4 separate regions of the Homo sapiens genome follow, and all the other regions are linked to region 1. The links are contacts of gene promoters, found by promoter capture Hi-C in blood cells and fetal thymus (Javierre and others, 2016). All regions are on one chromosome and are shown on one strand. Each heading gives the region's core, a stretch centred on a gene start or on the middle of the fragment in contact. The rest is flanking DNA. Distances are from core to core; before and after follow the strand shown. Region 1 holds the start of G3BP1 (G3BP stress granule assembly factor 1). Region 2 holds the start of HNRNPA0 (heterogeneous nuclear ribonucleoprotein A0). Region 3 holds the start of MAT2B (methionine adenosyltransferase 2 non-catalytic beta subunit). Region 4 holds the start of NUDCD2 (NudC domain containing 2).

The links. The method cuts DNA at HindIII sites, captures the fragments that hold promoters and counts their contacts. A CHiCAGO score of 5 or more calls a contact.
Region 2: a contact is called between the fragment with the promoter of HNRNPA0 here and the fragment with the promoter of G3BP1 in region 1, in 3 of 17 cell types (total B cells, naive CD8 T cells and fetal thymus). The highest score is 8.3, in total B cells.
Region 3: the fragment with the promoter of MAT2B here is called in contact with the fragment with the promoter of G3BP1 in region 1 in 3 of 17 cell types (naive CD4 T cells, naive CD8 T cells and total CD4 T cells); the score reaches 10.6 in naive CD4 T cells.
Region 4: a fragment that was not itself captured here is called in contact with the fragment with the promoter of G3BP1 in region 1 in 1 of 17 cell types (fetal thymus); the score reaches 5.5 in fetal thymus.

The regions. Positions count from the first base shown.
Region 1 is chr5:151,768,675-151,775,576 of GRCh38, forward strand. It overlaps G3BP1 (G3BP stress granule assembly factor 1), which reads left to right and starts at 3,280. Exons shown (of 12, transcript NM_005754.3): 1 at 3,280-3,362. LOC100652758 (a long non-coding RNA gene) reads right to left here and starts at 3,502. Exons shown (of 2, transcript NR_132345.1): 1 at 3,029-3,502; 2 at 1,119-2,098. RefSeq lists enhancers at 1,367-2,088, 2,467-2,696, 2,954-3,248 and silencers at 3,457-3,786, 3,837-3,906. The HindIII fragment of the contact is 14,997 bases long and covers 1-5,185 here.
Region 2 is chr5:137,750,711-137,757,612 of GRCh38, forward strand. HNRNPA0 (heterogeneous nuclear ribonucleoprotein A0) reads right to left here and starts at 3,653. Exons shown (of 1, transcript NM_006805.4): 1 at 1-3,653. The coding sequence starts at 3,356. The coding sequence ends at 2,439. RefSeq lists enhancers at 2,312-3,003, 2,413-2,572, 3,083-3,432, 3,694-4,385 and a silencer at 4,013-4,372. The HindIII fragment of the contact is 5,253 bases long and covers 720-5,972 here.
Region 3 is chr5:163,502,254-163,509,155 of GRCh38, forward strand. It overlaps MAT2B (methionine adenosyltransferase 2 non-catalytic beta subunit), which reads left to right and starts at 3,366. Exons shown (of 7, transcript NM_013283.5): 1 at 3,366-3,496. The coding sequence starts at 3,434. RefSeq lists enhancers at 675-1,483, 819-868, 3,099-3,905, 3,123-3,212, 3,253-3,372 and a silencer at 3,543-3,682. The HindIII fragment of the contact is 7,455 bases long and covers 1-4,529 here.
Region 4 is chr5:163,455,578-163,460,439 of GRCh38, forward strand. It overlaps NUDCD2 (NudC domain containing 2), which reads right to left and starts at 4,525. Exons shown (of 4, transcript NM_145266.6): 1 at 4,285-4,525; 2 at 1,985-2,033; 3 at 1,352-1,503. The coding sequence starts at 4,473. It also overlaps a transcript of CCNG1 not described here. RefSeq lists an enhancer at 4,242-4,491 and a silencer at 4,822-4,862. The HindIII fragment of the contact is 252 bases long and covers 1,125-1,376 here.

The DNA.
Region 1 (6,902 bases), core at 2,030-4,529:
GGAGGCTGAAGCGAGAAAATTGCTTGAGCCCAGCAGCTCGGGGTCACAGTGAGCTATGATTGTGCCACTGAACTCCTGCTGGGTGACAGAGTGAGACCCTGTCTCAAAAAAAAAAAAAAAAAATCACACAGTACTATAGGGTACACAGTGAAAACTAAGACTCTCTGCTGTCCTAGACAAAGTTCGTCTCCCTTAGCAATCATTAATATTCATTAACATTTTCTTGTGACTCCTTCCAGACATAACCTGTGCATGTATAACAGCAAAAACATATGGGAACAAATGTGTAGTGCAGATAACTAAAGCAATACATATGTCTTAATGGACATAATCACCCCATGATATCCCTCTTCCTTTATTATACAAACCCAGGAATACTTTTCCCATTATTCTGCACTTTGCTTCCTTCATTTACTGATATCTCTTGGCGACTGCTCTATAACTATACAAGTAGATCTACCCCATTTTCTGTATGGCTGCATGACAGTCTACTGTAAGTATACTGTTTTGCAGTGCTCTATCTAACCAGTTTCATTCAGCCAGATATTTCGGTTGTTTTCTGGCTCTTTCTACTACAAACAATTCTGCAATGACTATTAGTAACTCTGCAGAGTTTTCTTTTTTTTTTTTAAAGACGAAATTCTTTTTCTTTTTTTTTTTTTTTTGAGACAGAGTCTTACTTTGGTGCCCAAGCTGGAGTGCAGATCTCCGCTTGCCGCAACCTCTGCCTTCTGAGCTCAAGTGATTTTCCCACCTCAGCCTCCCAAAGTGCCGGGATTACAGGCGTGTGCCACCACATCCGGCTAGTTTTTGAATTTGTTTTGTAGAGACGGGGTTTCGCATGTTGCTCAGGCTGGTCGCGCAAACTCCTGACCTCAGGTGATCCACCCACCTCGTCCTCCCAAAATGCTGGGATTACATGCGTGAGCTACCGCGCCCGGCATGCTGCATAATATTCTATATTACGTGTATATCACTGTTAAAACAGCTTATCAATTGATGAACATTAAGTGTTCGGGTTTTAAATCTTCTAGCAATGCTGACAAAGCTGCAGTGAAAGTCTTGGCACATGCCTTTGTAAACAAATGTGGCTATCAACCAAGTGACATTATTGTTTTGGGGGATATGCACAATTTTATTAGATTTTTAAATTGCTGCTGGGCGCGGTGGCTCACGCCTGTTAATCTCAGCACTTTGCGAGGTCGAGGCAGGTGGATCACCTGAGGTCAGGAGTTCGAGACCAGCCTGGCCAACATGGTGAAACCCCGTCTCTACTAAAAATACAAAAAAATTAGCAGATCCTGGTGGCGCGCGCCTGTAATCCCAGCTACTAGGGAGGCTGAGGCAGGAGAATCGCTTGAACTCAGGAAGGCGGAGGTTGCAGTGAGCCGAGATCACGGCATTCCACTCCAGCCAGGGCGACAGAACGACGCTCCGTCTCAAAAAAAAAAAAAAAATTGCTTGGCAAAAAGATCTGTATCACTTAAAACTCCCTCCAAAAGTGAAGGGTAGCCATGTCCCTCATCGCGAGTCACCTGGGTTAAATTACTAATCTGTAAATGTTAAATTTCGCCAATCTTCTTAGTGTTTCAATTCGGAGAGTCATGTTGTGAAATGCCAATCTCTTAGTCCACCTTTTAAAAAACTTTGCAGGGGTTCTCCAAGGCCCTCAGAATAAAGTCCAGATTCCTTTGCAGAGCTAACAGGATACAGGAGACTCCCTGCTCCAGGAAACTTCTAGGGGCTTCTCTCCTGGGGCCTGTTCCCTGGTTTTGGGAGCGCTCGGGCGACCGCGAGCCAGAGCAGCGTCTCGCTCATCTCGGACCCAGGCCTGGGGCTCCACTGACGCCGACGGAGCCGGGCTGCTGCGGGAGTGGAGCCCTGGGGGACCAGAAGGGGCTTTCACTTCGCTCCTGGGCCTCCCGAGTTCCAGGCTCGGGCTAGCCCCGCGCAGGGAGGCGAGCGGGCCCGGCTCCCCAGAGGCCGAGGCCGGCGCCCGTGCTCCTTCAGCTCGGCCTCTCTCCCCCGACATAGGCGCTCCACATGCTTCATTTCCAAAATTCTCAGCAAAACTCCGCGGGAGACCCTGGTCACATGCCTGGAACGAGAACAAACCGGGGCGTGTCTGTGCCGGACGGCTGGGAACCAAAGCTATTTCCATAGAAATAGGGCCGGCCAGCCTTGAGTTGTAGCCCCGCCAGTGCCTGAAACGCCAGGAGGAGGGGACGAGTTGCCTTTTAAAGGCGTAGCGACGAGAATAAGCCCCCACCCGCGGCAATTCGAGGCTGAACAATAGTGGTGCAGCTCGGGACGTGGTGCGAGGGCCCACACTCCACTGGAGCACGCGCGGACCACCGTGCCTCAGCTGCCACAAAGGGAGCCTCGCCACACGCCCGCGGCCGCCTCGCAGCGCCCGCCAAGAAGCGCCTGGCGGAAGGGCGCACTCTCAGGCCTTCCACCGGCGACCTTCCGGCGGGAGCCTGCGGGCGGCGCAGGAACGACCCTCCTTCCTCTGCCCCGCAGCAGTGCTGAGTAATGGTGAGAGCAGCAAGGCCCTTGGCCGCCGCACGTAAGAAAAAAGTTGTAATAAAAAGAAAACAACCCGGGAAACTTTACTAGTTGGTTCGCCAGGTACAAACCTATGCGGAAAAGGCGGGGTACAGGCCTCGGAGGCCGGACCCAACCAGTCAGGGAAAGAAAGAGGGCAGAAGCCGCAGGCTGCACAGCCTCACAACCGCCCAGAGGGCACGGCGGCCCTGGGGCTCGGTCTCTTCCGAGCAGAGCAACCTCCGTGTCTATCAGCTCCTTCCGGCGTTGCGATTGGCCACAGGCTGTCTTGGCCTCTCGGACGCCCGCCTCCTAGTTGCTAGGGGTTTACTTCCCCAAAGTACACGGGCCCCACCTTGTGGCGCAACCGCTCCTGCATGGAAAACGGATCTCCGCCCAGGGGAAGACGTGTTAACGAATAAGAGCAGCCCCACACATTTATTGGCTACTTTGAGTATCAGTCAAAGAACTGCTCACTCGCCTTTCTATTGTACTTTTCGGTTATTGGTCTCTCTTAGTGCCGATCTGTTACTAGGGAAACGAGATCCTCACAGTCTCATAGGCAGGAGTCAAAGCCAATCAAGAGCCACGCCTTCATCCCCGAGTCAGTGCCCAATTACTGTTCGAAGAGCCCTGAGGACGCGGTCGGGATTGGTCATCCCGTCGCCCGACCTGGCCGCAACAAGTTAGGGTGAGTGGCAGTTATATAGACCGGCGGCGGAGCACGCGTGTGTGCGGACGCAGTTGCGTGAGGGGTTTGTACTATCCTCGGTGCTGTGGTGCAGAGCTAGTTCCTCTCCAGCTCAGCCGCGTAGGTACGCCGGGGTGTGGGCGGGGCAGGGAGGCCAGAGGACTAAGCCGAGCCGCAGCACTTGTGAGAGGGAGAAGTCTGAGTGGCGCTCGCGGCGGCCGCGCCAGTCGCGTCCCCCACCCCAACCCCCACCCCAACGGCCGCAGGCGCGCGCGGCGGACGGACGGGCGCGCGGCGGCTCCTCGCTCCCGCTCCCGTCCCGGCTGGGGCGCGTGGCCGTGTCCGCCGCGTGCGCGTGCTGCGTCCAACGGCCTCGCGGGGCAGGAGTAAGCCGCGGCCGCCGCCTGGGCCCCAGGGCGGTCTCTGGGGCCAGGGGTCCCGCGCCCAGCGTTTCCCGCCCGCCACCCTCTCCGCCACGCGCCCGCGGCACCTTTTCCTCCCCTGGCCAAGGGATCCAGTCGGTTCGGACCAGAAGGAGGCTTTCGTTTAGGGTGGGGGCAGCACTAAAGTCTGATTGGAGTCTTGCGGTCCGCGCGTCGCAGAAGCGCCTTCGGTTTTGCAGAGAGCAAAGAGGGAGCAGCGAGTGCACGGAGTGGTAGTAACAACCAATGTTCTTTCCACGCCCTCACTGTGTGTCCGGCACTGTGCGGAGCCACTTTTCTGCCTTTCATTTGATTCTTGCAGTGAGCTGGCGAGGTGGGTACGGCTATCCTCCTTCCTTAGCGGCCCAAGGCACGGGTTTGGAGAGCGGGGTCACAGGCACGCACGGGAAGGGCGGGGATTTGTTGACGCCGGGCCCTCTGACTCCGAGCTCCCCGCTTCCCAAGCCTGTTTTTAGTCTTTGCCCCCAGAGCACTTGTCCCTCGGGGCAGCATCAGCCTCAAAAGGCCACCTGCCGAGAAGGCTGCAGCGGCATTTGTACTTGGGCTAGTTCTGGGCTTCCAGGGAGACAAGGGTTGGAAGTGGGAATGTGACAAAGGAAAAGGGTTTGGGCTTCCTTTCTACGTGTACTTGTACAGGCCCTGGGTAGATGTGCCGCCACCGTAGCTTCTGGAAAAAAGTAGGGAAAACGATGAGTAAGTGCAAATGAACATGGACTGTGTTCCTCATCGGGTTTGAATCTCAGATTGCTGATGGGAAATTCCCGCCAGCGGGAAGTTAGGCTCCGGTTTTAGACGTTGAATTTTTTTTTCTCTACTTTTTTTTTAATTGGAGGAGACTTTTGCAGAAAGACCTTGAGAAGATTCACTTTATAGTTGAAGGGAATGAGGTGCAAAGCGACGAATTTAAGATCTCACTAGCATCTGTGGGTTAAAATACGGAATTGGAATAGAAAGGTTGGCGCCCAGTTACAGTATACTATTTGGACCTCTGTGGAGCGTGTCATGCTGGATGAATTACTGGTGTTGGAGATGTGTTGGAAAAAACAACTGTGACAGTCGAGATCTGTGGATGAAAGTTTGTGTACACTCCGTTTATTTAGCATTTACTCTGCTGGGTTCTTGTGTATATGCAGAAACAAGATGCTTTTCTTCAGGGACTGGAGCTTATATTTTTCTAGTAGTTACCATCTTTTAGATTATTTAAAAGCCAACATACTCCTTGGCTTAGTGAAATAAATCTTCTATGTTATAGAAACACTTCTATAAACATAAAGATTTCTATAATCGTGTTCTGGAAACCCTTTCTATAAACATGTTTCTATAACAGTATTATAATAATGTTCCAAGTAACATTTACTTGGAACTTTGCTGGTGTGGCGATTCCGGTTACTTGCCCTTACAGACTGGTTAACTATGGAATTAGCATTTTAACTTAGACTTAAAGTTGAGCAATTTAAGTTGTCAAATGGAAAAACACTAGAATGACCTACATTTAAACTGTTTAAGCTTGAGTCCAGCTAATTTTATTACTGCTTGAGGCAAAATAGAATGAAATTACCTTACACATTATTGAGGGAAAATTTCGTTAGTTTCTACTTAAAATATTAAAAAAATACAGTTCTTGGCCTCAGGCAAATGGTTATCACTTGGGCAGGAACATGAAAATTACGTGATTATTTCACAAACTGGTGCTCTAACTGATTACTTGTGCATTTATCAGGAACAAGTGAATTGAAGCAAATTGTGGTAATGTAAGGCTTGGCAAGGCTGCCCTACATCCCTACCAAGTCATACGTCAGTTTTGTTGGAGCTGCTTACCGGTACAAAAGTCTAAGCTTTTGTACCTCTTACAGGTAGAAAAGTAGACAGTTCTTTGTTTAACTCAGTTTGCTGTTCCTGAGCTGACACTGCACCAGGGGAACATTAGGAGATTTTGGTAATGTTTGTTTGTGACCTACTTAGAGCAGTTTTTCTTTTGTAACTTATGGTTTTTTTTTTTCCCACTCGTTCTAGTATTTTGCATAGAAAGTGAACGGCAGAAGGCAGTTTTAAGTTTTTGTAAAAGTTTGTGAATTTTATATCGTCCTTAGGACTGATGGGGCTAGTGTTAAAAGATAAAATTTAACATAAAGCTTACATTTGTGACTAAAGCCAATTTTATATTTTTTTTCTTTATTTTTGTCAGTCTGATAAAACTGCCCACTTGGTCTTTTAACATTTTGCAAATTGATTTTTTTTTTAACTTTCAGAATTTAAATAGGCATTGTATGTTTGTTTAATTATATTGTGCTTTGGCTTCCTTGGACGAAACTATTACTGACTTTACAAAGAAGAATGGATAATTGTGGAAGTAGGTAGGTCAAAAAAAAAAAGGAAAGCCTCGCCCGCCCCCCAGTAATTTGTCAAAAGCAAGTGGGAAAAATCTCTGGTAGTGCAGTACTGCCCTTCCAGTACTCCAGTACAAGCCCTGGAGTTGAATTTAGATTCAGCAACTATTATCTTACATGTAGTTGGTGATCACAATGTGGTGGCACACTAGGTTTATAATTTTATATCTCAGAAATCAGCTATTTACTTTTTTTAAAAAAGTATTCTTGGACATCCTGTCTGTCTTTAGTTGGGAAGGTCAAGTTGCAAGCCAGGTGATAGGGTTAAGAGTAGGAATAATTCACACACACGAATAGTGTCTTAATATTCTGTCTTACAAGGTGGAAAGCAATTTCAAAAAAATTGCCCTCACAGCCTGTAGCTTAGTAAATAAGGTCTTTAGGCGACTTTGTGATAGAGTCCCTCTTCTGTCAGGTGGCCAGTCTGTCATGTAATAAGTTCTTGGTATGTGTGTTGTATCTTAGGTACTTAATCAAAAGTAAAGATTAAAGATGATTGACAGAAATTTGGCTTCCTGGATGGTATACACATCTACTTAGTAGGGATGTAATCTTTGGTGGCTATTAACTTCACTGGCTATATAAAGCATCATTATGTATTTGTGTAACCTTTTGCATATTTAGAGAGTGCTTTCACACATCTTTGGTATTACCATACTTTTACTAAAAAGTGAATTGGAGCTCTGAAACCGAATTGTCAAAACTATTTTGAAAAGCATGTGGTACCTAATAGGGTACTATAGCCAGCTTATTTCCTTAATTGAAAAATCTTAGAGGGATTTTGAATCTGGAATGTATGAATGTGACACCTGCCTGCCCTTGCAGGCTTCTCCC
Region 2 (6,902 bases), core at 2,403-4,902, about 14 Mb before region 1:
CAAATAGCAATTTTAAGGGTAGACACATGACAATGAAGTGTTAATATACCATGAACAGAACAGGTTGCCTTCCTAATACACAGAAAATCCTTTTACATAATTCATTTGCAAACTTTAGAAGCCACTATATTCCCATGTTGGGAATAATATGACAACCTTATTAAACTGAAAACCCTGAGAAAGGTGTACTATTCCAATTGACCCAGATCTTCCCACCAAAACTGAGTAAGTCAAGCAGAGTAGTATTTAACAATTACAACGAAAAATTTCAGAGAATCATTTTCTGTATCCTAGAGGCCACTCTACAGCCACCAAAAAGCTGGACCAAATTACCAAATGAAGTAGCCCACATGTAATTTGTGTATCACTAGAATTAAAAAATAAGACAGAAATGTATGGAAAGTGTACAACTATTTGAGAGCAAAGGATTTGACTATGTATTACCTCAATGTGTAAAAACATCCACCCCGTTTGTCATAGAGGATATAACACTATTTGTACCAACCATCCGCTACCCTTTGTCAAAATGACTACTGAGCAGCTATAACCTAGCCTAATAATCTTAACCTTTCTTCTTACTTCTTTAAAAGCCCTGCCAATCAGGAAAAAAAAAAAAAAAACTGGCAAGAACTAGACCTTAGGAATTGAACAGTGACAAGAAGTTAAAAAATGGTTCAATATTAAAATATTATTTTATTTTAAAGCCCAATCTTTCAGAAAGCTTCTTAGTATAGCTTTGAGCCTTCAACGTCAACATGTAAGTCAAATATTTAAGTTAAATATTAACATCAAGTTAAGCATACTAGATTAAAAGGTACTCTGAACCCACCCACCAGGTTATACATACTCTCACTCAATCATGTAAAGAATTGAATTCTTTATTTGTGATATCCATAAACGTTGCTATTCTCTATTTCTATCCAGAAAGGCAATTTTCACCTATTATCACTTTTGTTCTTCTCTTATAAACAACAACTTGAATGCTATTGCAGGAAAGGGCTACAAATATACATTTGTTAACCAAGCAGAATACACAGATATTTTGCTTTACAACTTGCACCTAAAATACCAGTATACGTAGCTGGTTCATTAGTTGTCATAGCAATTTAGGGCTATTGCCCAAGCTATGCATAGCAGTTTACATTTTCAAACCTCATATAGAAAGGGCTATTGTGATATGAACTGGCAACTACATTCCTGTGAAGCCCATCTCAGTTACAAGCAAATGTGTTAACTTCCAATTCTGCAAAGAATTTTGATGGCAAAACTTCCAAATCTGATGCAATTGTCTTAAGCAAGTTTTTAAACAAATTGTTTCGCAGCTACTCTGCCATTCTGCCAGTAGATGGTGCTACAAAGATCGGGAAAGGGATTTCCATGAGGCCAACAGTTCGGATATAGGAAAAAAAAAAAAAAAACGTTTAAACCTGCTCTGAAAGTACAAAAACGCATTTGAGGGTAAAATATAACCCTTATTTTTAACCATTCATTACAGACAAACCAGTAAGAGGGATGAAACTAGGCCATCTGAAAAATTTTAAACAGTTTATATGAATGACATGCTTAACACAAACTATATAGAACTACACAGTACACAGTTTGAAGTAAATTGTCATAGAAATGACCAACCATGTCAAGATGATAAACAATTCGCTTAGTACAAGAGATGGATGCACAGAAACTTAAGAGTTTAAAAAGCCACATCCACCACTTCAAAAGTTTTGCCTGTAAGGGATATAATTCAACACGCAACTAGCAGGGCAACAGGAGAGGGGAAAAAAACCACAGGACCTCTTAAGTTTCTCTAAGTACACATCAAGAATAAAGAATTAACACGTAAAGTCTTAAACAAATATCCCTTAAAAAACGGTACGGAATGGATCCTAGAAAAAAAATGTTAGACATGTACGGTCAAACACAATGATTTATTAAAAATAAAACGTAAAAATGATTTTTGTACATATGCTTCCAAATTTCAGGCATGGGATCCAAGTAGATTTCATAGAAAACGCTGTAGCCAGGTTATCAAGTCCTTACAACAAAGTAAACTACCCCCCACCCCAACCCCCACCCAGGTTTTGCTACAGAATCAGCAAGTTCACTCCCTCCCTCCCCCCAAAAAACACAAATTAAAACAAGACATTTTGCTAGTATAAAAACGACCAAGGTCCAAGTAATAATAAAAAAATAGAGTCCATCAATGACTGTAACACAAAAATGTGTATGTGGGGCCGAGTCCATCTTCAGAGGGAGAGACAAGAGAGGTGGCAGGCAAATAGAGGAACACCCCCAAGGGTAAGCAGCCTTAGAAGTGGCTCCCCCAAGGGCAAAACAGGGAAGGCGGTGTGTGTGAGGGGGTGGGGCTTAGGAGTTGACCCCACTTGGGCTGTTGGAAAGAGCTACCCCTATAGCCACTCCCAGGCATTTTAAATTTTCTTTTAGAAGGAGCTGCCTCCATAGCCACCCCCACCGCCATAGCCGCCTCTGTAAGGTCCACTATTACTGCGACCGCCCCAGCTACTGCCTCCACCGCCGCCGCCGCCGCCGCTCTTCATGGGCCCATAGGAGGACTGATGCTGGCTGTAGCTGCCGAAGCCGCCGAAGCCGTTACCGTAGTCGCTCCCACCGTAGGACGAACCGCCGCCGCCGCCTCCGTAGGCATTGTAGCCGCCGCCTCCGCCGCCGCCGTAACCACCGTAGCTGTTGTAACCGCCGCCGCCGCCCTTGGAAAGGCCGTTCTGGTCTCGACCACCGCCGCGCCCCCGGCCGCCTCGGCCGCCCCGGGAGGATCGGGAGCCGCCTCCACCCCCACCGGAGTAGATATCCTCCTTGGGGACTGCTTTCTTCACCTCCACGCGATGGCCCTGAATCGGATGGAACTTGACCACCGCGGCCTTGTCTGCCGCGTCGTGATTCTGGAAATACACGAAGCCGAATCCACGCTTCTTGCCGGACTGCTTGTCGGCAATAATCTCGGCCTTTTCCACGGTGCCAAACTGCGAGAAGTGCTCGATCAGGTCGCCCTCAGCCACGTCTCCTTTAAGGCCTCCGACAAAGAGCTTCTTAACCTTGGCGTGGGCACCGGGCCGCGCCGAATCCTCCCGGGACACCGCCCGCTTCAGCTCCACAGTGTTGCCGTCCACGGCATGGGGCGAGGCGGCCATGGCGGCGTCCGCCTCCTCCACATTGGAGTAGGTCACGAAGCCAAAGCAACGGGAGCGCTTGGTCTGGGGATTCACCACCACCACGCAGTCCGTCAGAGTCCCAAAGGCCTCAAAGTGGCCGCGCAGGCCCGACTCACTCGTCTGCACATTGAGGCCGCCGATGAACAGCTTACACAACTGAGAATTCTCCATCTCCAAGGCCCGGGCCTTGCCCCCGCCCTGCGAGCTCCGAGGTTTCGCCGTCGCCGCCGTTATCGTTGGTTAAGGCCTCTACACAGCTTGGGCCCAGCCGTTGCTGGAGCCACCCCCGCCGCTCACCGACGGGGAAGGGAAAAAGGGAAGGGGAGGGAAGGAAGGAAGAGAGGAAGGGGGAGGGAAGGGGAGCGGTGCCGGCTAAAGGGCGAGCCGAGGAGACTGGAAGACAACCAAGGCCACCGCTACCGCCGCCGCCGCCACCTCCGCTCCCCTATCTGGGCACCACACAAAGAGGCCGCTGAACGCGCGCGCACCCTCCCCGAGGCGTGCGTCACCGCCGACGTACGGCAGCCTAGGGCTACCAGCCAATCCCCGCCTCGCTCCCCTTAATCCCGCCTACCGCGCCGCAGCGCCGCTCTAGATCACGGACTCCCCGCCCTCCGCGGTCTATTCAAGCCCGCGGCCTGTGCCGCTCCCGCTTCCGCTTCTGCCAGCCCACTTTCATTCCCGAGCGCCCCACTGTCCCTTGACATGGGTCCCTCCCTGCCCTCCGCGCACCACCGCGATTCATTTCCTCCTAGCACCGCGGCTGTTCCCAGTGTTTCTCCCCCTCCCCTTTACTCATCCCCTCGCCCAACTCCGCAGTGGCGTTCGCGCCAGCCCCTTGAGAGACATCTGAGTTCAGCCAATCACCGTGATCCCCTCGCACCCACTTCCGTTTTCGGCAGCTGTTGGACGGGCGCGCTCCCCGGTGCGCGCTTGCCCCGGCGCCCCCGGCGTGCAGAGCCGGCCTACCACCCCCGCGCCTTCTCCCGCCCAGGGCTTTGCCGGGGAGAGAGCAGGGGGCGCGCTGGGGGCCATTCCCAACGGATGCGGTCTGGGGCGCCACGCGCGGGCTTTTTGAAAACTTGACTGTTGGGGTTGGGGGCCCGGATCTACCCGCCGCCTCTCCGCTTGTCCGCTACACCTGGCGTCCCCGCCCCACCTCCCGCCCGCACAAAGATGGAGGGCAGAGGCCTGGTCCACGAAGGCGGTTATTAACCGTTTACAGTGGGCCCGACGTGCGGTTAAACTAAAACTTTGCCACGTGGCCCTGCGCAAAAGCGAGCCCGAGGCGGCGGTGTGAAAGACAACAGGGAACCAAAAGAACTTCAGACATTAGGAACCAGACGAGGCGCGACATCCCTGCCTCCCTGCCACCCTCCCGCCCTCCTTGAAGCCCTCCCACGATGCCCTCTCAGAGGAGGCCCTTTCAGGTCCCCTTGGCACACTCCAGCAGACATTTTCATTTAACCTCAGTGAATGGTTTTTTATGTGTAATTTACATCATCTATGTGTTGCTTTCTTTGAACTAGAATGTTAGCTTTTTTGTTGTTGTTGAGATGGAGTTTCACTCTTGTTGCCCAGGCTGTAGTGCACTGGCGCAATCTCGGCTCAGCAACCTCCGCCTCCTGGGTTCAAGCTGTTCTCCTGCCTCAGCCTCCTGAGTAGCTGAGATTACAGGCGCCCACCACCACACCCGGCTAATTTTTGTATTTTAGCAGAGATGGGGTTTCACCATGTTGGTCAGACTGGTCTCAAACTCCTGACCTTAGGTGATCCATCTGCCTCGGCCTCCCAAAGTGCTGGGTTACAGGCGTGAGCCACCGCGCCTGGCCTAGAATGTTAACTTTGCTTTTTTTTTTTTTTTTTTGAGACGGAGTCTTGCCTAAGCTGGAATGCAATGGCACGATCTTGGTTCACTGCAACCTCCACCTCCCGGGTTCAAGCGATTCTCCTGCCTCAGCCTCCCAAGTAGCTGGGACTACAGGCGGGCACCACCACACCTGGCTAATGTTTGTATTTTTAGTGGAGACGGGATTTCACCATGTTGGTCAGGATGGTCTCAAACTCGTGACCTAGTGATCTGCCCGCCTCGGCCTCCCAAAAGTAGAATGTTAGCTTTTTAAAGATGTTGGGTTAGACGAATGTTTTACAGAGAGAGAGATCATATACCCCTAAGTTACTGCTTTTAGTGCCCTCACTCAGATGGGAATGGAAGAAAATTACAATGGCTTCCATTTATTGAGCCTTTGTGTGCCAAGCAAGATAAATGGGGTGGGACATAGTTAATATGAGGCATTACGTGACCAAAAGCCTCCAAAACCATATGGTAAACGCTGAAGAAGTTAAGAGGAATTCCTCACTGTATCCTCAAGTATTCAGGAAAGATTTAGGAAAGAATTGGAAGTTGCACTGAACCTCAGAGCCAAAGACTAGTTAGTATCCTAAGCAAATTAAGGCTGGAACAGAAAACCAAATACCACAAGTTCTCACTTATAAGTGGGAGCTACACATTGAGTACACATGGACACAAAAGAAGGGAACATTAGACATCAGGTCTTTTTTAAGGATGGAGGGTGGGAGGAGGGTGAGGACTAAAAAGCTACCTATCAGGTATTATGCTGATGACTTGGGTGACAAAATTATCTATACACCAAACCCCCAAGACTAACAATTTACCCACATAACAAACCTCCACGCGTATCCCTTGAACCTAAAATAAAAGTTGGAAAGGAAAAAAAAAAAGATTTCTGTAGGGAGTTTATTTGAGCAAAATCCAGAGGGAACATAAGCTTCAAGAGACAGGGAGTGGGCCAGTTAGTTTGAGAGAAGCAGGCAGTTTTAGATAGAAAATAGTGAGAGGTAAGATAGGTTGAGGGTCTTTGGTACTATGAAATGATACTATGGAATGTGCTGAATCTTAGGTTAAGTAGTTTGGATACTGTAACAAAGGTAAATAGATGGGCTAAGGTTTGAGGGTAAACTAGTCTGATCTATCACTTACCCTGTAACCATTCAGTTATGTGACTTTGGCTAAGTTACTTAACCTTTTAAAAAAATGTAATCAGTTTTATTATCTTAAAATGGGAATAATAAAACATCTTTCTGTTGTAGTGAAAATTAAATAAGATTCTACATGTAAACATGTATACATGCCTGGTACACAGTAAGTGCTCAGTTTATCCAATTATATGAATCCTATGCCTGGTGCTGGCAATATGGCTGTAAACAACAGACAAAAACCTCTGCCCTCATGATGCTTACATTCTAGTGGGAAGAAGCAGACAATAAACAAATAAGAGTGGTATATGGCATGTTAGATAGTGATAAATGACATTAAAAAAATGAAAGAGGACAGTAGAAAGCTATTAACCTTGTTATTACAAAAAAAATTCAAATGTCAGGATTTGCCTATTGATAATAAAGAAAGGGGAAAATGGGCTGGGCACAGTGGCTCGTGCCTGTAATCCCTGCACTGTGGGGGGGCTGAGGCAGGCGGATCACTTGAGGTCAGGAGCTCAAGACCAGCATGGCTAACAAATTGAAACCCCGTGTGTGGTGGCGCATGCCTGTAGTCCCAGCTACTTGGGAGGCTGAAGCAGGAGAATTGCTTGAACCCAGAAGGCAGATGCTGCTGTTGTTAGCTGAGATGGCACCACTGTTTCAGAGTCATCCAAATCTTAAAACAGTAAAAGATGAACTCCTGAAGGAATAAAGACC
Region 3 (6,902 bases), core at 2,116-4,615, about 12 Mb after region 1:
GCTGTGATGGCACCACTGCTCTCCAACGTGGGTGACAGAGGGAGACCCTGTCTTGAAATAATAAAAATAAATAAATTATGCCCAGTTAGCCACTTGGGATCCATCTTGAAGGACTGGCTTTTTCAGGTTCACATTTGTTCACAAATGCAAACACACACACAACAATTCCTCATAATTTATATTAATAGATTTCTCTGAATGCCTCTTAGAGTTTACCATGCGCTGTGTGCTCTAAATGAATGTAACATTAAAAGTCAGATGATTTTTTTAGTTCAATTTGAATGGCAATTTTTGATGTTCTTAAATTGGTACAGAGCCATAATTCAGAATAGCGGTGCAAAGCTCACTGAGCACGTTCATGACCCTTGAAAGTCTTCGAAAACAGATTACTGGGCTTCGCTCCCAGAGAATGATTTCGTTTCTTAGGTTCTGTGGTGCAGGCAGGTTTGGAAATCACTTATCTAGAAGTCCTTAATGCTTTGTGAAACTTAAGGCCGCTCACTCCATCTACCATTTTCTCAGAGGGCAGCATAGTATTAATGGAAATGACCCGTTGCATTTTACTTCTTGCGTGCTGTTACCACCACTGCCTTTTACTCTCCTTTGAAATAATTAAAAGCACTGGGAAGGGAAAGCACTGGAGAATTTTACTAAACATAATCTGTTGCAATAAGGTGTAACTAAATAAAATGATAGAAAACTGTGCCTTTTAGAACAGGAATCAACTGCATGATCTGTGTGCTTTCCAAAAGTGTGGCTCACTCTTCTTTTGCAAAAGAAAACTACAAGGAATCTTGACAGGAAGTTGTTGGGTTTTTGTTTTTGTTTTTGTTAAGTAGTTAGTTCTACCAAATAGTTTTGCAAATAGACCCAGGCTTGACTGGCAATTAAACATGAAACTTCTCATTGGGTATTTTCGAGACTACTACGGGGAATCAGCTACCAGCTTACTGCCATGTGGAGAACTGCACGAGATTCCGGGATTGGAATCAAAATGCTAATTTAAAAGGTCAAGTGAAGCTGCTCCTCACGTTTTGGCGTGCCTGCGCTCTCTGCAGGCAGAAGCGAACAAAGACCCAGCAAGAGAAGGCAGAGGCTAAGACCCATCCCGTATCTGCTCTCCTGAAATAATTCTGGAGTCATGCCTGAAATGCCAGAGGACATGGAGCAGGTAAGAACTAGCAATTCAAGAAATGAAGCATTCTAGAGTAAGAGATGCTTTAAAAGCATTCCAGTGAACGCCTGCTAAAACCAGAATTGTTGTGTAAAGAAAATAGAAACGGGTGTCATTCATTTCCTTAAAACATAACCTCGGGACATGGAAGAATAAGCCAACTTTAGTTACTGACCCGGAGAACCAGGTTATGAAGGGCTCAGCTAAGTCTCACTAGCTGACAATACAGAATTGCACTTTCATTTACCATTTTAAATGCAATTATGTATATAAAGTTTCTACATAAATAAGGATTTTATCTGTAGTGTGTTCCTTTCCAGATGTTCTTTGTCTTTGTATGAATTGAATCTGCTAACATAACTTTTAGTTTCAGGCTGCTCTCTTTAAATGTATAGACTTAGCCACCACACGAAGTTGTATATTGTCTATGTTAAGAATGGCGTTTGATTCGCATAGACCCTACCATCATTAAAGAAAATGATTAAAAACCATATCCAAACATATGCCCCTAGAACTGTACCCAACTTTTACGGGGAAAGTATCAAGTCAGATTTTCAAAAGCAGCCAAGTTAAATTCTTTCTGTTCCTCAAGACTAGGCTGCTCTGAGAATCAGAATGCTAATTGCATATGCTTGCCCTTAAACCTGCTTCACGTTGAAGAATGAAGAATTAATTTTCTTTTCTCCCATAGAAAGGTAAGATTACATCACGTGTTGCGACTAGAAACTTTAAACCGAATTCCCAGTTAAGAGAAAAAGTAGTAAGATGATCTTGGCTGCTCCCCCGGCCCTCTTCCCGCCCTCTTCTTTGTTGTCCCCTGATTATGCTTGTTTAGCGCTGGGGCAGTCCTCAAGGATTCCCTAAATAAAGCCAAACTAATGAACAGTAATAGCCTGTGTTTAAAAAAAAAAAAAATCGGAACATAAGAAACCTCAGGCTGTCTTCGATTACTGTTCTAGAGAAACTTTATGTTTACACGAATAAGGAAATGAGTTTTTGTTGGGGGTTGAGGAGGAAGGAAAGTCATGGTGTTCTGACGTGGAAAACTTCTTTAAAAGGCTGCTTAGTCTTTAGTTTGAAAATAAACCAAAAAGGTTTAGGAGTCGGGGAAAGGCCCTAGGAAAATCCAGACAGTGGTCACGTTTGTGGACGACGTTTAGAGCTTGCTATCCTGGGCACACAAGAACCCTTGGACTGTTCGGTGCAAAGTTGGCAAATCCTACACGGCCTGTGCCAGGGTTTACTTTCTGCATCAATTTCACAGGCGTCCAGCCTGGCTGAGGATTTTTTGCGGTTTTTAACTGGAAGGGAAATAAGTCGGCATCAGCACTTAGGGCTGCTTAACTTTTAAAAGGTGGTAGAACGCCCAGCCTTACACGCTGCTGCTTAAATTCTCGGTGCTCACCAAGGCTGGGCTCGTGTGGCCCAATCCTGCAATCCCCGAGGCGGTGTTTCTTAAAGAGTGGGCTTGATTCTGGTTAAACCCATTAAGAAGTCGGACCCCGGGCTCGTTTCTTGTTCTGTAATTATGGGTAAAGTCCAAGGATCTGCGTTTTGAAGAGGTACCTAAGTAGTTCATCTTCCTTCCCCCTACAACTTTTTATTTTTAATTAGTTAAAAATAGTTTTACATTTTTGATATCTCACACACAGGTTTTTTCTTTTTTTAAGCATCCCAGGAAGACAAATGGCTCAGACGCCAACCCTTTTATTTTTATTCCTTGTCTTTTTCTAAATCTTTCAAAACCCCCACCTAGAGCTCTAGAGATGTGTCCATTATGCTCTACCCACCTCCGCCCCCGCCCCCATGACTTTAAAATGCTTTTTATTCCACTTTTTATATTGCTCAGTCGATCCTCATGCACTGCGCAGTCTGCAAACTTGAAACTCAAGGCGATCCACTTCAATCTTTTCCCGAGTCAAGAAAAAAAGGAAAAAAAGTAGAATAAAAAGCACTCAAATAAAATCTCCGAAACAAAACCTGAATTCACTGCCTAAGGTCAGGGCCTTTCTTTTGTGTGTCGCTTTAAGCATCGGCGCGTGGGCTGGGGGCAGACCGCGCGTACCCGCCCTCTTTCTGGGGCGTCGGCGGAGCGTGGCCAATCAACGGGCGCGGCTATGGCAGCGGAAGCCGGAAGCGGCGAGCGGGGTCGTTCTGGGCCTAGGGGAGGCGGGCCGAGGGCGTCTGAGCTGAGGCCCGCGTCGATCCTGGGTTGGAGGAGGTGGCGGCCGCTGAGGCTGCGGCGTGAAGACGGCGGGCATGGTGGGGCGGGAGAAAGAGCTCTCTATACACTTTGTTCCCGGGAGCTGTCGGCTGGTGGAGGTGAGGGAGTCGGCCTGGGCGTCTCCGGTGGGAGCGGGGGCGCCGAGGGGGACGAGCCACCGGGGCTCGGGCGGCTTTGCAGGCGTATTCCGCCCGGGTCAGAGCCTCCGGCCGGGAGTGGTCTCACCGCCACCCTCCCAGCCCCGGATCCGAGGGGGGCGCCACCGAGTTTGTTTATCTCAGCGCACACGGGTCAGTGTTTTTTTCTTCCAGCCACTGCGGCAGGAAGCAAGTAGGTGGAGGTTTTACTTTCGAGTTCTGTCTCTGCTCCTGAGGACGAAGAGGTTTTTCAGAATTGTTTGTTTTGATTTTGGTTTTCCCCGTTTATTCATCTTTGGTTCGTATTTCTCGATCTTACAAGTTCGTAGGTTTGAGAAAGAACAGGAAAAGGTGACTTCTCACAAATAACAGTGCTGGAGATGACAACTTATTGAACTCTTAAGTTCTCAGCACTATGTTATGCACTTGACGGGCATTACTTTAATCCTCCACTGTGAGATACTTGTTATTGCCTCATTTTGTAGACGAGAAAACGGGCATAGAGGGTGAGACATTGGCCCAGGTTCATTCCGTAAGGTTGGAGCCTGGAATTCAGATACAGGTTTGTGTGACTGTCTTGGGCTTTGAACCACTACGGAGTTTCCCTGAAGGAAGATTATGGTGATGATTGGAAGATCCATCTCTGGTGCCCCCCTCGCCCCCGTCCCATCCTGCTCCATTCCACTTAAGGGCCTCCAGCATTAATCTGTCCACAGAACATATCCAACCCTGGGGATAAGAACACTACTAATGCCCAGACCATGTCTTTTGGAGAGAGTAGAGAATATAGGAGATGGCTGTTTCTGTTATTGCAAAGTTTTCATGCTTCCAAATTTACTTAGGGTTTTCAAATCACTTTGGTTCTTTGAGGGTAAAGTTAGGATAAATGGTCTATTAAACCTCTATGTTCCTAGGTCCTCCAGACCGTGCTGAGTGCATGTTACATACGTTTACATTTATATGTATGCATTTGTATGTGTACGTGTGCATATAAAGCTTAATCTACTTTCACAAAAAGAAGTTCAGTATAAAAATGAAAATAGCTTTTCGTGTTTTCCTTCATTAAAAATGAAACAACGAAGAGCTTGGCACAGACTTACTGCTCTCAAAACCTGTAGAATTAAAGCTTACTGACTCATGAGAACGAGAACTGTCTCATAGTTAACGTTAGAGAAGCATCCTGGAGTGGTTGTTGTTAGTAATACTGTCTGTGGAGCACAGTAGCGTCGCAGTAGAAGTTAGACCAATCCCACCTAAGTAGTCAGAGAATCTTAAAAAGTAAAGCCCAGTAATGTTTACCTTAAGGGTCTGTTTCTGGGGAATTAAAAAATTAAACATGGAACTGTGCCAAGTTTTAAAGTTTCCAAAAACGACAAGGTATTTACCACTGAAATTTGGGAAAACCACATACTAATAGTATTCCATTCTTTACTTTTCTAGAACATTTTTAGTAGACATTAATGCAGGTGTGCTAAAGTAGAAATCACTGTCCCAGAGTACTGTGTTGGACCATTTGGAAGGAGCCATGTATCTCCCATTACCTATACAATTTGGTATCATTCGATTAGATACGATAATAAGAATATTTATTTATATGTACTTAATTTTTCAAGAAATGTTTTTTTGGTGTCCATAAATCTGGTCCCTTGGAGTGATTGAATTCCGTACTTCAGAGTTTAGACAATAAGAGGCAGATACGTTTAGAGTAACTTAAACTGATATTAGATCTACTTTCCCCCATATAATAAAAATTGAGAAAAAGTAGACTTCAGGCAAAGTATTATCAACTCTTTATTGTGCCTTGAGTGAACTAGATAGCATTTTATTCTTTCATTCTGACTTTCTTAAAGTGTTTAGACATTTCTTCCTTGTGCACAACTAAAATAATTTATGGAGTGCAGGTCCAAAGTAGTTTTTAGAGGGATATTTCTTTTTCTAAAGAACGAACCAAAAAGCCTCAACAAAACAGTGTAAAAGGCAGAGTATTGCTTATATAGAAGCTCAAAAACAGAGATATTTGTTTGGCATATTTTAAATTTCGGAGTAATGCATATTCAGAGGAAAAGTTACCTTATTTAAGTAAACGAAACTATTCGGACTCCTCGTGGTAGGGATAATATGGAAAATGTTAGAAATATAGAACTTTAAAGCTGAAAGAGCCTTAGTCATTTTGTCTAAATGCCTTCCCCATTTACCAATGAGGAATTAGATCAATAGAGATAGAATAACTTCTAAACACCAATTTGTGGCAGAACAGATAAAACTTTAATCATTCATGAAACCAAATATTAGTTCACAGGATTGAGACAAAATGCAGTGTATTTGACTTGACCAGAGAAGCAAGACTCAGGTTCTGGTTCCAGCTTTTTCTCTTTTACTATAGACAAAACATTTAACACTGGACTTCTTGTTACTCTCTTTGGAAATAATATCTCTTCTAACAAGCTGCTGGGTTTTTTTGTTTTCTTTTTTTTCCTCTTGCTCTTTCACCCCGTCTGAAGTGCAGTGGCTCAATCTCTGCTCACTGCAACCTCTGCCTCCAGGGTTCAAGCGATTCTCCTGCCTCAGCCTCCCAAGTAGCTGAGATTATAGGCGCCCACCACCATGCCCGACTAGTTTTTCTATTTTTGGTAGAGACAGCGTTTCACCATGTTGGCCAGGCTGGTTTTGAACCCCTGACCTCAAGTGGTTGGTCCACCTTGGCCTCCCAAAGTGCTGGGATTACAGGCGTGAGCCCTGGCACCCGGCCTCAAACTGCTATTAAAAAAACAAAAACAGCTATGATTGTATACTTATATAACACGTTAGTTTTCTTTTTTTTGGTTTTTTTGTTTGTTTGTTTTTTTGAGATGAAGTCTAGCTCGTGTCCCCCAGGCTGGAGTGCAGTTGTGCGATCTCGGCTCACTACGACCTCCGCCTCCTGGGTTCGAGCGATTCTCCTGCCTCAGCCTCCCGAGTAGCTTAGATTACCTAAAATTACCTAGAAAAAAATATGAAACAGTGTACAGTACCCAGCAGTCAGGTGTCAGTGCTCAAGATTTTTATTAAGAGTGACGATCTGAAGTGCAAGCATTTACTGAAATGGAAATGATACTGCACAACATTTTATTTGAAAATTAACATGTTATAGGCCGGGCGTACTGGAGGCCTTACATAGTAACCCAGGGGTATAAGGATATAAAGTTGCATTTTCTCATACAACTCCACTTCCTTTTTTACGTTAAGGTATTATATTCCCTAAAGAGCCTTGTTCTTCTCTATACTTAATACTGCATCAACTCCAAGAAGCTCTTAATTAAAAGAAGATCATCTGGGCTCTTAAGTTGCATTAAGTTAGCAAAAACTACTGCAAAACTGTGACGATTCA
Region 4 (4,862 bases), core at 1-2,500, about 12 Mb after region 1:
ACGGTGAAACCCCACCTCTACTAAAAATACAAAAAAATTAGCCGTGCGTGGTGGCGGGAGCCTACAGTCCCAGCTACTCGGGAGGCTGAGGCAGGAGACTGGCGGGAATCCGGGAGGCGGAGCTTGCAGTCAGCAGAGATCGCACCACTCCATCTCAGAAAAAAAAAAAAAAAAAGAACTGCTCTAACTGCTATTTTGAGAAGACTATGGCAAGAGTAAAAGTGAGAAGACCAATTAGAACGTTATTAGAGTAATCAGGCAAGACATTAGAGGTGGTCCAGATCAGAATGGTGGTAGAGTTGGTGGTGAAAAGTGGCCAAATTCTAAATATATTTCGAAGGTAGCATCAGTAAGATTTCCTAATACATTGGATAGGGTATGAGAAAGATGTAAGAATCAAAGATGAGTCCCAATTTTTTTTGACCTGAACTACTAGTTTTCATCAACTGAGATGAAAAGGCTACAGGTAAAAACAAATATGGAAGGATGTTAGGGTGTTCAACTTGGACATGTTGAGCTTAATATACATTAGATAGCCAGGTGGAGATGTTGAATAGGCAACCGGGTATGCAGGTCCTAAATTCAGAAAAAAAGTCTAGGCTAGAGATATACATCTGGAAATCATTATCATAAAGACGTACATTATCAAGTGCTGCAATCTAGCAATTCCTCTCCTAGATATTTATCTTAAAGATATCTTAGAACACTTGAGTAGTTTCACAGAGATGAAAGCACAGCTTTCTTTAAAATAGAGAAAAATGAAGAAATCTAAATCATATCAAAGGCAAACAGCCAAATAATGATGACACATCCAAACTACAGAATCCTCTGAAGCAGTTAAAAAGAATGAGTTTTATACCTATGTATTAGTAGGGAAAGAGACCCACAGCATATTATTAAATAAAAAAGCAACAAGAAGAACAATACACACAGTGTGATCCTCCATTTATGCTAAAAAACAAAACAAAACAAGCAATAGCCAACATATGAGATGAAAATGAGATAGATGCATGGAATGGGGAGAATGGTGGTGAAGGGGCCTTTCACTTTTTACACTAGGTAAGTCTATATTGATTCAACTATAGTAAGAGTTTATTCATGCATTACTGATGTACATAAAAGTAAGCTTAAACTCACAAATCACAGCAATACAAATAAATTCCTCTCAAGAAAATCTTCCGAAAAATCAAATCCATACAAGAAAGGCCATTTTTCTAACAATTCACTTTAAAAATTCTTCTAGAAAATGTTTGTAACTTTTCATAATGACATTTGAGTTTTAATTTCAAATATTTATTTGATGATTTTTATATATTTAATTACACATACTCATACACTTCATCTGACTTACTTCTTTTTGGAATCTCTCTAATGTAAGCTTTCTCTGCATTTGGTCTTGCACCCAAGGATCCGCTGCATATTCAGATTCTAGTAGAGAAGTCCAACAATTTGCTGCATCTCTCTTTGTCTTTGTAAGAACAATACGAACCATTTTTCTGTCCTCTAAAAAAAAAACACACACACACACACGCACAAATAAATTAGAGTTCTTCATCAAGTTGTTTTTTTTTTTTTTGAGACAGTATCACTCTCACCCAGGCTGGAGTGCAGCGGCTTGATCTCGGCTCACTGAAACCTCCGCCCCCCGGGTTCAAGTGATTCTCCTGCCTCAGCCTCCCGACTAGCTGGGAATACAGGCATGCGCCACCATGCCCGGCTAACTTTTGTATTTTTAGTATAAACGGGGTTTTGCCATGTTGGCCAGGGTGGTCTCAAGAAGTTCTTCATTAAATTTTATATTTCCAAAAACAACTAACTAATTTTTTCTCCCCCCACTAGGTAACTTTGACATACAACGGTTTTCAACACATTTCTATTGCTTTATCTTTCAAAGCTGCAAAGACAAAAAAGACCTAATACAAAAGAGGAAAAGATATCAAGACAAAATTATTTTAATTTGATGAATTATAGTAATTACCCTTACCCAAAGTCCATGTTCCCTCATCAGCTATTGTAGAATCAAAGAGTTTGCCCTGAAAAATAAACATATAAGGTGCTAAAAATACAGAATTTAATTTTTATAAAGTTTTCATGATTAAGATTTACCTACTTTCCTACCTAATCCACATCTTATACCACCACTTCACCATGACATTTATAGGTGCACAACCCTAAATTTTCTCCCAGCAGGTAAAATGGAAACTAGTTTACACTGCAAGGGATATTTACTATGGCAAAGAACACAGAGCTCTCTAAAGAAAGATCAGGGCTCCTTAATTTTTAGAAGATACAGTAATACTGACCACTGGCCAAATGTGAAATTAATATCTGAAATGCTTTAATTCTACCAATTTAAATTAACCACAAGAAGGGATCTCCTGCTAAAACTAAAAAATGTTGTCTTTTTTTTTTTTTTTTTTTTTTTTTTTGAGACAGAGTTTCGCTCTGTCGCCCAGGCTGCAGTGGCACGATCTGGCTCACTGCAACCTCCACCTCCAGGGTTCAAGCGATTCTCCTGCCTCAACCTCCCAAGTAGCTAGGACTACAGGCGCCCGCCACCACGCCCGGCTAATTTTTGTATTTTTAGTAGAGATGGGGTTTCCCCGTGTTAGCCAGGCTGGTCTCGAACTCCTGACCTTGTGATCCGCCCGCCTAGGCCTTCCAAAGTGCCAGGATTACAGGCATGAGCTACCGCACCCGGCAAAATGTTGTTTTTAAAGTAAACTTTTAAAAACGTTTTAATCTTTTTGTTGGGCAATCGGCATTAAAAAAACTTTACGTATTCCAGATTTGATAGATTAGTTGTGACTAACTGTTCACAAACTCATGTTTTTTAAAAAAATAAACAAAATATAAATTTAAAAGAGACTGCACCAGGCCCAGTAGCTCAGGCCTGTAATCCCAGGACTTTGGAGGCCAACGTGGATTGCTTGACCCCATGGGTTTGAGGCTGCTGTGAGCTACAATCTCACCCCTGCACCCCAGCATGGGAGACAGGGACCCTGTCTCAATAAATATATATTTTTTTTTAAAGAGAGAATGCCTAAACTCAAATCCATTTTAATTTGTTGCCAAATTTAAGTTATAGAAAGTGAAATTAAATGTCACTAGGAAAAGCCCACATTTTAAAATATGTCAAAATTAGTGAGAAAAAAATCCCACTGGTCTATACGTACATCAGAAATCCCAAATTCAGCAGCTACTGCTAAATTCCGAAAGTTACTGGATTTACTAATTTATAATCGTAATCTAAAACCATTGTTGAGGAAACTATGAATTGTACAATTCAGAAAAGTAACTGAGATCCAAGCTGACATAATGTCTTTCACACGAATCTTGAGGCACTCAAAGCACCTCCATATACTGTAATATATATAATAGCTAATAGCTAACATATAGTATGAACTTATTACATACCAGTGAATACTCCAAGCTCTTCATACACGTGAATACCATGTTAAGCTCAAAACAATCCCATGAGAAGGGTACTATAACTACCTTATCTTGTGGATAAGGAAGATATAGAGACACTGAACAATCTCTCGCCCAAGTTTACAAAACTAGGAAACAAGTAGTCTCCCTTCACCATATTACACTGCCATCAAACATCTTGGGCATCTAACCTGAGAACTAAATCTAATTTCAACCTGTTAGTTTAATTATACACTTAACAAAGAAAAAGCGGGTCCAGATCCAAAGAGCATTGGTGAAAAGAAATAAAAGGAGTACTACTTATTTTATGCACACACCTCTTCACCACCTGCTTGACCACTCCACAAACATGCAGGATTTTCAAGCTTTTAGATGAGAAAACTAATCACCTGACATCATCTCTAAATTCTCTGCCCGTTATTCTATCCCTATTTTCTTTGTTGTCCTTTCCTATATTTATCTATTTATGAATTACGCTTCCGTACAGGAGCTTAACCTCTCCACTGCAGGTACGTTATCTGTTGTCTTCCTGCCTGTCTTCAGTGCACGGAAGAAATATTTGTTCCTTTAGCAACCTAGTTAATCTGTTCCCAGCTGAAGCCCGTCAGAGAAGCAGAAGCAGCAGTCTTAGTTTGAAAACTAAACACGAAAATAGGCTCCTCAAATTTCCACAACTCAGCACCTGCCCTGAAGAGGCGGGGGCTCTGACCAGACCCAAACCTGGTCAGTGTTATCCTCTTTCTCTTTCTGCCAGCCACAGGAGCCGTCGGGACACCCAACAGTCGTTCAGGGAAACGGGGCTGGGGGCGTCTGGGAAGAGGAAACTGAACACAAGCCCCGAGCTGCCGCTACCTTGAGGATCTCGCGGCCGCCCACCGACAGCGCCACATGCCGGCTCTGGAGGCCGCACTGGATATCCTGGGCGCGCGTGCCTGGCGGCACCTGAACTTCAATGAACACCTCCTCCAAGGTCTGGTACCACTGGCCCCACGGGGTCCCGCACGGTACCACCCCACTCCGCTCCTCAAACGGGGCCGACATAATCCAGTCCCTCCCGGCCGCGGCCGCACCAGGCGGAGCCGAGCGCACGCGCGGAATCCCACGCTTAGGCTACGCCTCGGCCTCTCCGCTCGGGTCACTGCGCATGCGCAGGAACGCAAGCTAGCGCTTTGGTGTGCGTGTTCGTTTTTCCCTTTGAATGGCCGTTTACGGCACCGGCAGGCCCCGGATGAAAGAACTGAAATCCAGAAAAGTTCACATGCAACGAACAATGGGACAGAATTGGAACCAGTGAAGCCGGAACTCACTACACCGTCCCCTAAGTGACGCCAAAATGCACTTTCTAACGTCTCCGGAGGGAAGTGCGCTTGCGCAAATGCTAGGTTACACTTGAGTAACTCCGGGAATGACTGGGTGGGTGGGGCGGGGAA